Regions from separate parts of the Homo sapiens genome. Here region 1 is linked to region 2. The links are contacts of gene promoters, found by promoter capture Hi-C in human tissues and cell types (Jung and others, 2019). All regions are on one chromosome and are shown on one strand. The core of a region is centred on a gene start or on the middle of the fragment in contact, and the rest is flanking DNA. Distances in the headings are between cores, read along the strand shown.

The links. The method cuts DNA at HindIII sites, captures the fragments that hold promoters and counts their contacts. A contact is called where the count stands out against the background at its distance.
Region 1: a contact is called between a fragment that was not itself captured here and the fragment with the promoter of TK1 in region 2, in 2 of the 25 tissues and cell types used here (aorta and stomach).

Annotation. Positions count from the first base shown.
Region 1 is chr17:77,809,969-77,813,692 of GRCh38, reverse strand. All of the region lies in intron 1 of LOC105371908 (a long non-coding RNA gene), which reads left to right. Among named protein-coding and RNA genes, the nearest start is that of LINC01973, 72 kb to the left of the region's middle. RefSeq lists an enhancer at 2,579-3,267. The HindIII fragment of the contact is 4,695 bases long and covers 1-3,724 here.
Region 2 is chr17:78,185,138-78,188,671 of GRCh38, reverse strand. It overlaps TK1 (thymidine kinase 1), which reads left to right and starts at 1,620. Exons shown (of 7, transcript NM_003258.5): 1 at 1,620-1,743; 2 at 1,854-1,885; 3 at 3,507-3,534. The coding sequence starts at 1,678. It overlaps AFMID (arylformamidase), which reads right to left and starts at 1,310. Exons shown (of 11, transcript NM_001010982.5): 1 at 1,239-1,310. The coding sequence starts at 1,301. RefSeq lists a silencer at 1,328-1,467 and an enhancer at 3,506-3,534. The HindIII fragment of the contact is 12,138 bases long and covers 1-3,534 here.

The DNA of each region.
Region 1 (3,724 bases), core at 553-3,052, 380 kb after region 2:
ATATGGTTGGGGAGGCCTCACAATCATGGCAGAAGGCGAATGTGGAGCAAAGTCACATCTTACTTGGCGGCAGGCAAGAGAGCATGTGCAGGGGAACTACCCTTTATAAAATACTCAGAACTCGTGAGATGCATTCACTATCACGAGAACAGTATGGGGGAAACTGCCCCCATGATTCAATTATCTTCTCCTGGCCCTGCCTTGACACATGGGGATTATTACAATTCAAGATGGGATTTGGGTGGGGACACAGCCTAACCATATCACAGTCTCTATCCTGTATGTATAATTAAAAGGCGATTACAGCTGTTTTTGGCTTAAAAAATTAAACATGACCATCTTGCTCTAAAAAACATCCCTAGATGGCCCCAAATAGAGAAAATCACAAGTAAAGTGGCATAGACAAGAAGAACTAGATGGAAAAGACAAGGCAGGTACAGGGAAAAGGACTATAAGGTGGGAGGCTCGGTGAAACACCTGCTTCCTAGGGTCAAGTAAAGATCAAAGCTCAAGGAATGTCTACCTGAACGGAAACTCCTTTTATTCATTATCTATGGCTGCATCACAAATTTCCTCAAAACTTAAGGGATTCAAATAATAATAACTATTTGTTATTGCCCATAGTTTCTGTGATTCAGGAAATTCAGGAGCAGCTTAGCTGGGTGGTTCTAGGTTGGCATCTCTCCTGAGCCTTTTGTCAAGATGTTGGCAGGGCTAGAGTCATTTGAAGGCTTAACTGGGGTGGGAGAGTCTGCTTCCAAGATGGCTCATTCATGTGGTGAGCAAGTAGTTGCTGGCTGTTGGCTGGAGGCCTCAGTTCCTCTTCATGTGGAATTTTCCATGGGGCTCTTGAGTATCGTCACAATATGGCGGCTCTTTCCCTAGAGGAAGGGATGCAAGAGAGAGCAAGTGAAGGCTGCAATGTGCTTATGACCTAGCTTTGGAAATCACAGGCCTTTGGGGTAAAGAAGGCCTGGAAGGTGGCTATGGTCTTTGGGTTCTCCAGGGTACAGTCCATAGGCACCTCCCACCCTAGAGCCCAACCCCATTGGTGTTGGCCCTGAACCCAACCTCCACGTTCTGGCTGATACCCCAGTGGCTGCTCTCTGGGCCCTGATCAGCCAACAAGTACTCTATGACCTACAAATATGCTAGTGACACACAGACTCCAACGGCTGGACTAGCTCAGACTTCAGTGAAATAGACATCAGCCAGGTGAGGAGCTCAGCTTGCCATCTGTCTCCCTGGGCCATACTCATTGATGACGAGGTCAATTTCTGCTTTTGCCATCTTCCCACAGAGGGCCCAGCAAGCTTGGCCGCTGAGCTTTCTTGGGACATGGTGACTTCCTTCCTAGAAGGAAGTCCCTGCTACTTTCTGCCAGTGCTCAGGTTAGAGATGGGATTGCTTGTGTGTGGTCTCATTTCCCTTCCTGACCCCCAGGACAACCTTTCCTTATTCACTGTGACACTGAATGCCACACCTTAGACAGTAGTTGCTTGACGTATTTTGCCGAATGGATGAAAAGCACCCCAGAGACCCCACAGTGCCCTGGGGCATCATTCTCACTGTATTCTATGTGGCTCTACCCCAGCCCCAACCCATTTCCAAATCCCTCTCTGTACACTGACCACAGAGAAGTAGAATGATTTGCAGGGAGGCTGAGCATTTGGGGAGGAGGACATCTCAGGAGGAAGGAGGTGGTGGCCCTGGCAGATGGTCTTCGTGCATGGGACCGGATGTCCAGTCCCTCAGCTCCAGCCAAGGCAATACAGATTCTCCTGGGGACCTGAGGCGGACTCCTCCACATCTTATTTCTAAGCACAAATCCATCTCCATCCCCTTTTGCCTCCTCCGCATGCTCGTTCCTGCCGGCTCAGCACCCTGGAGGGAAGTGGGATATGGCCCAGCAGGTCACCTAGAATAAAGTAAGTCATCAGAAAAGGTCCCTGATTCATCAGAGGGCTTTGGCTGCCAAGCAAATGCTCTTGAAAGCTTGCTTTCTTCAGCTGCTGCGTCTCAGGGGCAGGGACTTACAGTGTTTGCTTTTCAGCCAACCACCCTCTTGACTCAGAGGCTGAAGTGCCCAGGAAGCAGGGGCAGAAGGCCCCAATGTAAGGTGAGCATGGGGTGAAGTGAGCCCCGAATTTGGGAGAGCAAAGTATGGCTCTGCCTAGCCAGACGACCTCTGGATTTGGGAACACGAATATGATAATAAAAACAATATGTGCTCCTCAGTGATGACACTGATTGAACCTTTCCCTGGGTCAGGCATTGGGCTGATGGTTTTGCAGGTTGTCTCTTCCTTAATCCTCACATCACCCTCAAAGGGTGTCTGTTAATGCTCCCATTTGGATGATAAAAAAGCAGAGGTTGCCTGAGCCGGATTTGCCAGTTCTAGAGTTTGATCTCTTCACTGGCATGAGATGCTGCTTCTTGGCCCCAGGGTCTGTCCTTGAAGCAAATGAAGTCCAACCTGCACAAGCATCCCCAGGGTAGGGACACGTGGACTGCTGGGGGAAATCACAGGGAAGGGGTGAGAATGGAGCCGTCTTCCTTTTCTGAATGAGGGTGGTGCCCTGAAGATTTATCCCGCCCCTTGCTGGTGCAAGGTTGTGGAGGGCCCAAGAGTAGCAGGCACATCTGGGCACATGGAGGCTGGTATGAGCATGTGGGTGTGGAATACAGAAGACCCTAAACAAGAACTGAGATCTGAACCTTTCACAAGGTAATGCCCCAAATAGCAGAGCAAGTGATGCAAAGGATTTCATAACTGTGGTGTCATGCCCCAGAGATGCAGCTGACCAGCCTGGAGCCTTCTGTCTCATCTGGGCCTTTTGTTTTCTGTCCTTCTGCAACTGGAGACAAGCTTATTCTCAGCCCCTCAGCCTGGATTGGTGTCCTGGCTGGGCTCCGAAGAGCAGAAAGGCCATGCATGTTCTCTTTCCTTTACCCATGCCAGAAGCTGTGTGAGTCATGTGTTTGTATTTTTAGCAACACATAGGAATTGCTGCATGACAAATAATTGGGGGGGGGGAGTGGAGACACTTGCAAAATTAACATAACAAAGGCAGTTATTTGGATCTAACTCTCAGGGATAGAGGCAGCCTGGCAGTGCTCCTTGATCCAGGAAAGGCAAGAGAAATGAAGGGCTGACGGTGGGGTTGCCGGTGCCCCAGGAGTGGAGGCACCCAAAGGTTTTCTATGGGTAGCAAAGGAAAATAGCTTTTCCGGGTGGGCAGCTGGCATGGTCCTGGAGACCTGGGCATTGTATGTGCTGTTCTAGTGTGATCACAGCAAGTTTGCTTCACTTAGAAAGGCTAGAGAATGTGGATTTCTTCCTGTGGACTCCCTAGGCCCCTAAATGAGCCCCACAGCCTCCTGGGAGTCTTGCCCATTTCAATCACTTGTTATCTTCACCATCACCCCGTTACCACCACCATCATCGCCACCATCACCATCATCACCACCATCACCATCACCATCACCATGATCACCACCACCATCACTATCACCATCATCATCACCATCACCATCATCATCACCATCACCATCATCACCACTATCACCATCACCACCACTACCATCACCATCACCAGCATCACCTCCATCACCATCACCACCATTATCATCACCATTACCATCACCACCATCATCACCATCATCACCATCATCACCATCACCACTATCACCATCACCATCGCCATCACCATCATCACCACTA
Region 2 (3,534 bases), core at 371-2,870:
TGAGCCCAGATCGCGCCACTGCACTCCAGCCTGGGCGATAGAGCGAGACTCTGTCTCAAAAGAAAAAAAAAAAAAATTAGCCAGGCATGTAGTACCAGCTACAGTGTGCCTGTAATCCCAGCCACTCGGGAGGCTGAGGCAGGAGAATCACTTGAACCCGGGAGGTAGAGGTTGCAGTGAGCCGAGATCATGCCACTGCACTCCAGCCTGGGTGACTGAGCGAGACTGTGTCTCAAAAAAAGAAGGCATGTATCCAAATCACAAGGTTAAAAGAGATAAAGCATGCGAGTAAAATAAAGCAAGCCAGTCAGTGTGGGTTGCTTCTTCCTCCCAGTGAAGGAGCTCTTTGTCAGAGGTCCTTGGATCTGTCCAATCTGTACCTGGAAAGGTTATTACCTGTAGGATCCTTACAGCCACACCTGGCACACTCTGTGATCACTACCACCATCTTTGTTGCTATTATTTATGATCATGATTATACAATGGGTTTCTTTTCTTTCTTTCTTTTTTTTTTTGAGCCACCGCACCCGGCCTGTATGTTTCTAACCTTCACAACCCCAATGTAAATACCAGCTGTTCTGAATCCTTCAGCCTGTGCCACATAAGCACAGACCCAAAAACATTGTGTAACCTCAGATCAAGGTCCAGAACTTTGTCCCCTAACCTCCTGCGGGTCTATGGATTTTTTTTTTTTTTTTTTTTTTTTTTTTTGAGACTAAGTCTTGGTCTATCGCCCAGCCTTCCAGGCTGGAGTACAAATGGCATGATCTCGGCTCACTGCAACCTCCACCTCCTGGGTTCAAGCGATTCTCCTGTCTCAGCCTCCCCAGTAGCTGGGATTACAGAGGTACATCACCACGCCCGGCTAATTTTTGTATTTTTAGTAGAAACGGGGTTTCACCATGTTGGCCAGGCTGGTCTCGAACTCCTGACCTCGTGATCCGCCAAAAGTGCTAGGATTACAGGTGTGAGCCGCCACGCCTGGCAGGGTCTACGGATATTATTAGCATAGTCAGGACTTCAATTTTCTTTATCCTGAAAACCAGGTTAACAAAAATCCTTAGGAGAAGGTAAAATACACCATGGTGCTCAAGCACTGGGGACCTGGCACGCACTAGGCGCTCTGCATGCCCACAGGAGTGCTCTAGACGGCTTCTAAGCTTCCTTCTTGGAATTCCAATCTAATAAATGAGCTAACTCCGCCCCAGCCCCTTAGTCCCTCCCTGCAATCCACCTACCTCTGCAGACATCTTCTTCCAAGGAACCTTGCTTGGGAAACCCACACCAGACACATCCATCATGGCGTCTACAGCCGCATGGGCGTGCGTCCCTCTGTTTATATGGCCAGAGCCCCGCCTCGCTCCGCCCCTTTAAACTTGGTGGGCGGACCGAGGCGGGGCTCAGACCAGGCCCCACCCCGATCAGCCACGTCCATCGCCCTGATTTCCAGGCCCTCCCAGTCCCTGGGCGCACGTCCCGGATTCCTCCCACGAGGGGGCGGGCTGCGGCCAAATCTCCCGCCAGGTCAGCGGCCGGGCGCTGATTGGCCCCATGGCGGCGGGGCCGGCTCGTGATTGGCCAGCACGCCGTGGTTTAAAGCGGTCGGCGCGGGAACCAGGGGCTTACTGCGGGACGGCCTTGGAGAGTACTCGGGTTCGTGAACTTCCCGGAGGCGCAATGAGCTGCATTAACCTGCCCACTGTGCTGCCTGGCTCCCCCAGCAAGACCCGGGGGCAGATCCAGGTGCGGGGGCCAGCCCTGCGCGTGGCTGGGGATGAGGTGGTCGTGGTGATAGCCTGTGTCCAGGCATCCGCGCAGGGCGGGCCCTCAAATGACCTCACCTTCTCTCCTAGGTGATTCTCGGGCCGATGTTCTCAGGAAAAAGGTAATGGCTTCGCGGGGCTGGGGTGGAGCTCCTTCCTCTTCTCCGGGGACCCCTTGTCCCGTCCCTCCCCTCCCCTTCCCTCCCCTCCCCTCCCCTCCCCTTCCCTTCCCTCCCCTTCCCTTCCCCTAGAAGGACCAGCACAGCCTCCTACAGCTCCCGCCTGGGGTGCTCCTCCCTTGAATTCAGTCCAGGAGGAAGTCTCTGCCCTCTTCTGCCCAGGCCAAGCCCCTCGTCCTGTGTGGACGCCACTCCCTCCTGGAGCTGGTGACAGCTGCTTACAGCTTAGCTGTCTTCCCCACCAAGTCCTCTGAGAAGGTGGCAACCAGTTGTGTCCCCTGTAGGCCAGGCCTTTTTGTACACCCCTATTCAATGTGGCTGTTTCCTTCTAAGGCCAAGGAAACGTAGTCGCTTTCTAAACCAAGGAGTCTGAAGCCGTGGAGCCTCTGCTCTCCTGAGGTGATAGAACCATTCCCTGACCCGGGTGGGGCTAGTGAGTTTCTTGAGTAAACTACCCACGCACCATTCTTTTTGTTTTGTTTTTGTTCTTCTAGAGGTAGGATCTTGCTATGTTGCCCAGGCTGGTCTCAAACTCCTGGGCTCAAGCAATTCTCTCACCTCAGCCTCCCAAGTAGCTGGGACTACAGGCGTGCACCCCCCCGCCTCCACCCAGCTAATTTTATTTTATTTTTATAGAGCTGGGGTCTTGCTATGTTGCCCAAGCTGGTCTTGAACTCCTGGTCTCAAGCAATCCTCCTACTTCAGCATCCCAAAGTGCTGGGATTACAGATGTTAGCCACCATGCCCTGCCCCAACATTCTTTTATGGCCCTGGGGATCACTTCAGCTCAAACCCCTTGCTCAGGAAGATGTGGCTCAGAGTTGGACTTCTTGGACCCAGAAGCAAGTGCTTTTGACGCTGCACACAAAGACTTTCTGAAATTAATTTAGAAAAGCTGTATGCCAGGTGTGGTGGCCCACGCCTTTAATCCCAGCGCTTTGGAAGGCTGAGGTGCGTTGATCACTTGAGGTTAGGAGTTTGAGACCACCCTGGTCAACGTGGTAAAACCCCATCTCTACTGAAAAAAAAAACCAAAAATTATCTGGGCATGGTGGCAGCCTCCTGTAATCCCAGCTACTCGGGAGGTTGAGGCAGGAGAATCTCTTGAACCCGGAAGGCAGGGGTTGCAGTGAGCTGAGATCGCTCCACTGCACTCTAACCTAGGCAACAGAGCGAGACTCCACCCCAAAAAGAAAGAAAGAAAAACTCTGAACTCTGGGAACAACTCTGGGATGAGGTTACTTTGGAATGCAGTCGCAGGTTCCCTCTACATGTAGCCTTTGCTTCTGCCTTCCCCACTACATCTTGGAGAAGGTTACTCCTCCCACACTTCCTGGGACCACCTGAGTACCATTCCTGGACCTCTTCCCCATAGAGAATTCTGACTTCCAACCCTCTTTGTAGGGATATTATACCCTGCCTGCTCTGCCCTGCTCTTTTCTGGCTGTGGTGGGCTCAGTCTGCATACCACTAGGGACAATGAGGAGCCAGGCTTGTTGGGGAGGGGTCTCCTTCTCCCACTCCTCCCGCCGTGGACCTCACCTGACCCTCTCTCCTCTTGCAGCACAGAGTTGATGAGACGCGTCCGTCGC